Regions from separate parts of the Homo sapiens genome. Here region 2 is linked to region 1. The links are contacts of gene promoters, found by promoter capture Hi-C in human tissues and cell types (Jung and others, 2019). All regions are on one chromosome and are shown on one strand. Each heading gives the region's core, a stretch centred on a gene start or on the middle of the fragment in contact. The rest is flanking DNA. Distances are from core to core; before and after follow the strand shown.

Region 1 (3,548 bases), core at 1,049-3,548:
AGGGTCAATAAGATCATGTGAGCAAAACCCAAAGCCCTTAGCGCAGTGCCTGCCACATAGTAGGTGCGCAATATATGATTATTTTTGCTGCCAAGCAACCATTTCCCATTCTCCTGGGGGACTTGCTGGAGATTGTGGAGCAGGGGTTTGTGATTGAGACACCTCTCCCCAAGCCAATGGGCAGGCTTGTGTCCCAGGTCAGGACAATCAGGCACTCCCTCCATAGGATGAAAACCTTAAACGAATGGCATTCTCTTTACCAGAGCAGCAGTGCCCTAACCACACTGTCCTTGCCAGGCAAATATTCCCAAGATTCCCCTTTCTGGCCTTCCAGAGCCACCTTGATTTCATCCCATTTCCCAGTTCTCCAGGCTCCCATGGGCTCTGGGATCACATATTATCTTCCCAGTTTATTTCCTTTTGCCTGAGGAAGCCAAAGTCAGCTTCTGTGGCTTACGGCCAGAGACCCCTGACACTGACCAATGGAAAAAAGGGGGCTCTGGATCCACTGCTGCACGGAGAGGCACTCTAAGCTGCCCTCTAGTCCTTCTGAAGGAAGGCCTGAATACTGGGGGACCCTAAAAGGCATTGCAAATCCTTAACATCACCATCAAAGTCATACAGGGTTTTGGCCCTGCACCTCTCTGGCCAACATCCCACCACCGTCCCCATTGTTCACACCACTCCAGCCCCACAGGCATCTGTGCTATTTGTCACTGTTTGACTGGACACACTCCCTCCTCAGGGACTTTGCATTTGCTGTTCCCTTGACTCAACTGCTCTTCCTCCAGAAATCCCCATGGCCTACTCCTTTTCCTCTTTGCTTAAATGTCACCTGCTCAGTGGGGCCTCCCTCAACCACCCTACTTCAGAATACGATCCCCAGGGGTCTGGGCCCTCCCTGTCCCCCTTGCCTACTTAATTTTTCTCCAGAACTTTCCAGCATGGTCTGTCCTTTTCTTACATATTTTGTTGTCCGCCTCCTAAACTCCATGAGGGCAGAGTTCATTGTCTGTCTTGCTCACTTAGAAATCTCTAGCACAGTCACTTGGCACAGAGTAGGTGCTCAATAAATATTGACCTGAGTTGCATTCTGGGTGGATACAGTTAGGGACTTGGGGTGACCAGGGGCTCTTGATGGAACAAGGCTTTTCCCACAGAGCCCACTGCTTGCTCAGCCCCAGAGATCCTGGCTGACAAGTGCCTCCTTTTGGGGCCAGACTCCTGGGAAAACCCCACTCCTCCAGTGACCTGCATGTCGGGGAGGGAGCCACTTAAGTCCCGGCCTCTCCTGAATGGATAACCAGTGTATCTTGGAAGACTCTTTTTTTTTTTTTTTTTTTTGAGATGGAGTTTCACTTTTGTTGCCCAGGCTGGAGTGTGGTGGCACAATCTTGGCTCACTGACACCTCTGCCTCCAGGGTTCAAGCAATTCTCATGCCTCAGCCTCCTGAGTAGCTGGGATTACAGGAGCACGCCACCATGCCTGGCTAATTTTTGTATTTGTATTTTTTTTATTTTTTGAGACGGAGTCTCACTCTGTCGCTCAGGCTGGAGTGCAATGGCGCCATGTTGGATCACTGTAACCTCTGCTTCCCGGGTTCAAGAGATTCTCCTGCCTTAGCCTCCCCAGTAGCTGGGATTACAGGCAGCTCGCCATCATGTCCGGCTAATTTTTGTATTTTCGTAGAGACGGGGTTTCACTATGTTGGCCAGGCTGGTCTCGAACTCCTGACCTCAAGTGATCTGCCCGCCTCGGCCTCCCAAAGTGTTGGGATTACAGGCGTGAGCCACCGCGACCGGCTGGAAGACCCTCAATAATAATAATTAATAATAATAACAGTAACAGTGGCAAGCATTTATGCTCGCTGGCCTTTCCCCCTGGGTCTGTATTAAGGGCTTCACATCCAATATCTCACTTAAGGCTCAGATCGTTCTGAGACCCATTATGCCCATTTTATACCACATTATACCCATTTTAAAGATGAGAAAACTGAGGCTTGGAGAATATCGGTAGTAGCCCCACCATTTCCTGTGACTTCCTGGAGCCTGGCCCACAGAGGAGGGTTCAGGACGGACGCTTTCCTTCCCCGCCCTAGGGAAGAGGGAGGGACGCGGGCGCTGGCGTGGAGGTTGGGGGAGCCTGAGAGGCTCGGGCGCTGGGTGCGCGGGAGGGAGCGTGCGTGCTTGGCGCGAAGGCTCCTGGCGCAGGCGACCCGGCTGCCCCGCCGAGCGGTGGCTTTCCGGAGGGGTGGGGCGGCCGCCTCGGGTCCTGACGTCGGGCGCCCTCCGGCCGTCACTCAGCGCTCGGCCCCGCCCCGCCGCGGCTGCAGCAGCAGCGCCGCGGCCGGAGGAGCTACCGCCGCCACCGCCGCCACCGCCTCCTGGGACTCGGAACGCAGCGCTCGGAGCCATGGCCTCGGCCCCCGCGGGTAAGAGGCCGCTGGACACGAGGGCGGCGGGAGGGCAGCGCCCGGCCCCCGCACCCTCTCTCGGCTGACCCGCGGCTCTCGTTTCTTGTCCCACAGAGGCGGAGACCCGACAGAGGCTGCTACGCACCGTCAAGAAGGAGGTGGGTGCCGGGGTGGGGGCACTGGGCAGGACTCCCCCGGCAGCAGCGGCCAAACGGGAAAAGAGTCTTCGTGGAAGGGTGGCCTCTGGCGGCGGGGGGGCGGCCAGAACAGGTGTGGGGCTCACCTGGGTGGGCATTGACCTCCCGCAGGGCAGGAGGCGCAGCGAGGGAGTTTGGGGGTGGGCGTAGGTGTGGGGAGGCTTTGGCCCATTTGAGGCTTTTTGCGGGGGCGGATGTAGCGTGAGGGCCCTCCAGGTGTGGGGCACACCTGGATGTATCCCGATAGGACCTCCTCTTGTGGAGGAGCAGGTGGGCGCGGCTCAGGAAGGGGACCTTCCAAGAGAGAGAAGCTGCTAGGGGGACGCCCCCCACAGGGTGTGCTGGAGGAGGGGCTCTGAATGGGGCTGCCGAAGGTGGGGCACGCTTCAGGAAAAGGCAGAAGGAAAATAAAACCTCCCTTCCCAGCCCCCGAATTCTCAGTCCTTGGAGCCACCTCCAAGAGCCAGGGGACTCCCTCCCTGAGAGTCACGGGTCAGTGAGCTGCTCCCCTGGCAGTAGGGGTCCCTTCACTCCCCCCGCCCCACTCCCACCCCACATTCAGAGGGTGAGAATCAGAGAGGTTCTGCCATTCCTCTGCCCCTCCACTCTCCTTGGGGTCAGCGCGTGGAGAGGGGGGCAGTCTAGTCTTTAGGGCTCATGGCCAATGACCTCCCAGAACCCCATAGACAGAATTTATAGTCCTTGGGGTAGCATCTCGATGCCTGGACTGCGTGCTCTGGTGTGTATACCTGCATGGGTGAGGACCTGTGGCTGTGAGTGTGTGCGTATGAGAATGTCTGTGCATCTGTCTGGAGATACCTAAGTGTATCTCTTTGCACTGTGTGTACACGTATCTATGTGTGTCTTTGTATCTGTTTTTGTGAGGGTGGGTCTGTGTGTGTATATTGTGTGGTGCATGAGTCTGTGAATGAGTGAT
Region 2 (3,289 bases), core at 353-2,852, 86 kb before region 1:
ACCTCTGCCTCCTGGGTTCAAGCGATTCTTCTGCCTCAGCCTCCCGAGTAGCTGGGATTACAGGCACCCGCCACCACACCTGGCTAATTTTTGTATTTTTAGTAGAGACGGGGTTTCCCCATATTGGCCAGGCTAGTCTGAAGCTCATGACCTCAGGTGATCCGCTCACCTCAGGCTTCTAAAAGTGCTGGGATTACAGGCGTAATCCAGCTTTCCTTATGACCTTTCCACCAAAAATCCATCCAAATTCCCACCCCAGCACAAGGAATAACACAATGCTTCCTATATAGCTCATCAGTAATAGGTTAATTCTAAATACAAATATTAAACAGAAATTCAGTGTTGTTACTTTTATGTCTTCCTTTCCTGTCCTTTAACAAAAAAAAGTTTCAAAAATAAAGTAAACGTAGTTTTCCAAGTAGAGTTTACTTGTTCACAGATGTACTCTCTCTGTGACGAATGCCCCATCTTTTCAATTCTTAGAGTGGCCCTGCTTGGGGTGGAAAATGTTCAGTCACGTTCAGCTGTGAGATCTCTGTCACATATTTGAAAGGGAAACTGCAAGCCAAACCCTGTCAGTTCTCCTCTCTGGAAAAATCAGTCTGTGGTAGTATTGAGAGTAGAACATATCACTCTGAATCTCTCCTGTGTCCAATCAAAAACGATGAGAATTTAATGCTATGGACCTAGGAAAATATTTCAGACATCCTGCTTCAAAAGGAAGACAGGCTTACACGTTGTGGTTTCATTAGCACATCAGGTCTTCTTCTGCAGGTCAAAGGTAAAAGAGACGAGTTGACAAGGAACGATTCGGTTCCTGGTGAATGGACTGCCCCACGAGGTAAGCCAGCTTGTGGGCATAGTGGCAAGGCGCTGGAACTCGGATGATGCCCTTTAGTAGGAAAAGAAAATACACAACTAAATTTTTTTCACTTTACATCTACTTTCCCTAAATTTAAATTCATAGAAGCCAGTTCAGAGGTCCAACATTGTTCAATGTTGAATAGTACATTTAAAAAATCTGAAGAAAAAAGTAACAAAAAGTACTTACTGGCAAATTATAATACATGTGGCATAGACAATATGTTAAACGCTGTACTGTATCTGGGCTCAAGCCAATCGTGTCATAGATGACGTTATAATGAGTGGGGGTAACAGTCCCATCTTGCACAGACTGACTCACAATAAAAAAGTCATACCTGGAAATATAGGACATGTGGGTATCAGCTCATTTTAGAAAGAGGGTATATAGTAAACTTAATGTCTGAAATGAAAACATTTAGTATAATTGCTTACAAAAATCTATTCTATAGATTAAGTTTCCTTTACATTTAGAAACCTAACTGATAAACAACGATTTGAGAAATCAAGTCTATAGAAGGCAATTAAATCACTGACACAGTAACTCTCGTGGGATTTTGCCTTCAAGTACATGCACTGAAACCTAGAGGAAGAAACAAGATTGGCACATTTGATCTGATATGGCCATAGATAATTCTATTCGGAGATTCTTGGATGAAGGCCTGCTGCCTCGCTGAGAATCACTGGACTATATTTAAACTGTTTTTTTTTTTTTTTTTTTTTTTTTTTTTTTAGACGGAGTCTGGCTCTGTCGCCCAGGCTGGAGTGCAGTGGCGCAATCTCAGCTCACTGCAAGCTCTGCCTCCTGGGTTCACGCCGTTCTCCTGCCTCAGCCTCCCGAGTAGCTGGGACTACAGGCGCCCACCACCACACCCGGCTAATTTTTTATATTTTTAGTAGAGATGGGGTTTCACCGTGTTAGCCAGGATGGTCTCAATCTCCTGACCTCATGATCTGCCTGCCTCGGCCTCCCAAAGTGCTGGGATTACAGGCATGAGCCACTGCGCCTGGCCTTAAACTTCTTAAACAATACAACCGGTAAGATTGATCTATGTGTTATAAATATTGAATTTATTTTTATGTGTACAATCTTATGTTGTACTTTATGTTTATGATACTTTTTATTTGCTCCATCCTTTAATCCTTTCCTGCCTTATGTTAGATTGATCAAATGTTTCTGCCTTTCCTTCATTTTACTTCATTTCTCCTCAACTCTTGGTATGAATATCATTAATTCCACTGTGGTTTCAAGTAAGTCTTTCATTTGTATAATTGACAAGTATAGAGCAGCAGCAGCTTTATCATTTTCCCTGGTAACTAAAGAATCTTAGTGTATACTTTGACCTCATAATTCTTTTTCTATGTAAGTGCTATATCCAGTATTTTAGGTCTTGTTTTAATATACCCTATAAATTGTCATGTATGAAATCAAGGCTTTTTTATACTCCATCGTAACTGATCAGCATTGCTTCTTGCATTTCATTCTCTCTTAACTGTTTGATTTCCTTCTTCCTGAAATACAGTCTTTTTGGGTAGCTCTCTCAGTGAGTATCTGGTGGATCTGTTAATGTATATACTGTATAGGCACTAACTGAGCATGTTTGTATTTCACTGTCACCCTTGATAAGTTAGCCGGGTATCAAATTCTAGCTTGATGGTTATTTTTAAGCATTTTAAAGATATTTCATAGTATTCTGATTTCTACTCTTGCTGAATGTGATTTTTATTGTTTGTAAATATATTATTCCTGTGGTTGCTTTTAAATTTTCTTATGCCTGCTGAAGTTTCACTATAACATTTCTAAGTGTGAACTTTTATTGATTTTTGCTCAAATCTTGTTATTCTTCAGTCTTAGGATTCAGAATCTCAGACTTTCTCTTTGAATATTGCTCCACCCCACCACACCCCCATCATATCTTATCTACTACTGAAACTTCTATTTGGTATAGAGCAAATCTTATTTTGCCTTACATTTTTCTAAACATTTTTTCATATCTTCCATATCTTTATGGCTCCCCACTGCATTATGGGAATTTTGTGAACATATGTTCCAGTTAACAATTTGTTTTCTTTTATGTCTAACCTTCTCTTTAACCCTTCCACTGATTTTTCTTCGTTTTGACTATATTCATGTTTGTTAGATATTCAAATACAAATTGACCTTTTCATTAGATATTCTTACGGCCTTTATTCCTTTTTATATCTTTTCTTATTTCAATACATTTTTATATAGAATGTCTCTAACCATTTCATCTTCTGGAAGTTGTATCTAATCTTAATGTCTTAAAGGCTGGCTCTAATTCATAATGACTTGCATCCTCATAACAAGAAAAAGACTTCTAAATTACTGTTTGGAATTACTTCCTTGTGTCCATGAACAACAGAGCTGACTATACGAAACTATTTTGTAGCATATTCAGTATTACTT

The links. The method cuts DNA at HindIII sites, captures the fragments that hold promoters and counts their contacts. A contact is called where the count stands out against the background at its distance.
Region 2: a contact is called between a fragment that was not itself captured here and the fragment with the promoter of SGSM1 in region 1, in 2 of the 25 tissues and cell types used here (neural progenitor cells and thymus).

The regions. Positions count from the first base shown.
Region 1 is chr22:24,803,913-24,807,460 of GRCh38, forward strand. It overlaps SGSM1 (small G protein signaling modulator 1), which reads left to right and starts at 2,299. Exons shown (of 25, transcript NM_001098497.3): 1 at 2,299-2,432; 2 at 2,529-2,572. The coding sequence starts at 2,414. RefSeq lists a silencer at 2,137-2,346. The HindIII fragment of the contact is 18,100 bases long and covers 1-3,548 here.
Region 2 is chr22:24,718,697-24,721,985 of GRCh38, forward strand. PIWIL3 (piwi like RNA-mediated gene silencing 3) reads right to left here. Exons shown (of 21, transcript NM_001255975.1): 20 at 1,052-1,199; 21 at 338-892. The coding sequence ends at 776. Among named protein-coding and RNA genes, the nearest start is that of PIWIL3, 54 kb to the right of the region's middle. The HindIII fragment of the contact is 7,147 bases long and covers 1-3,289 here.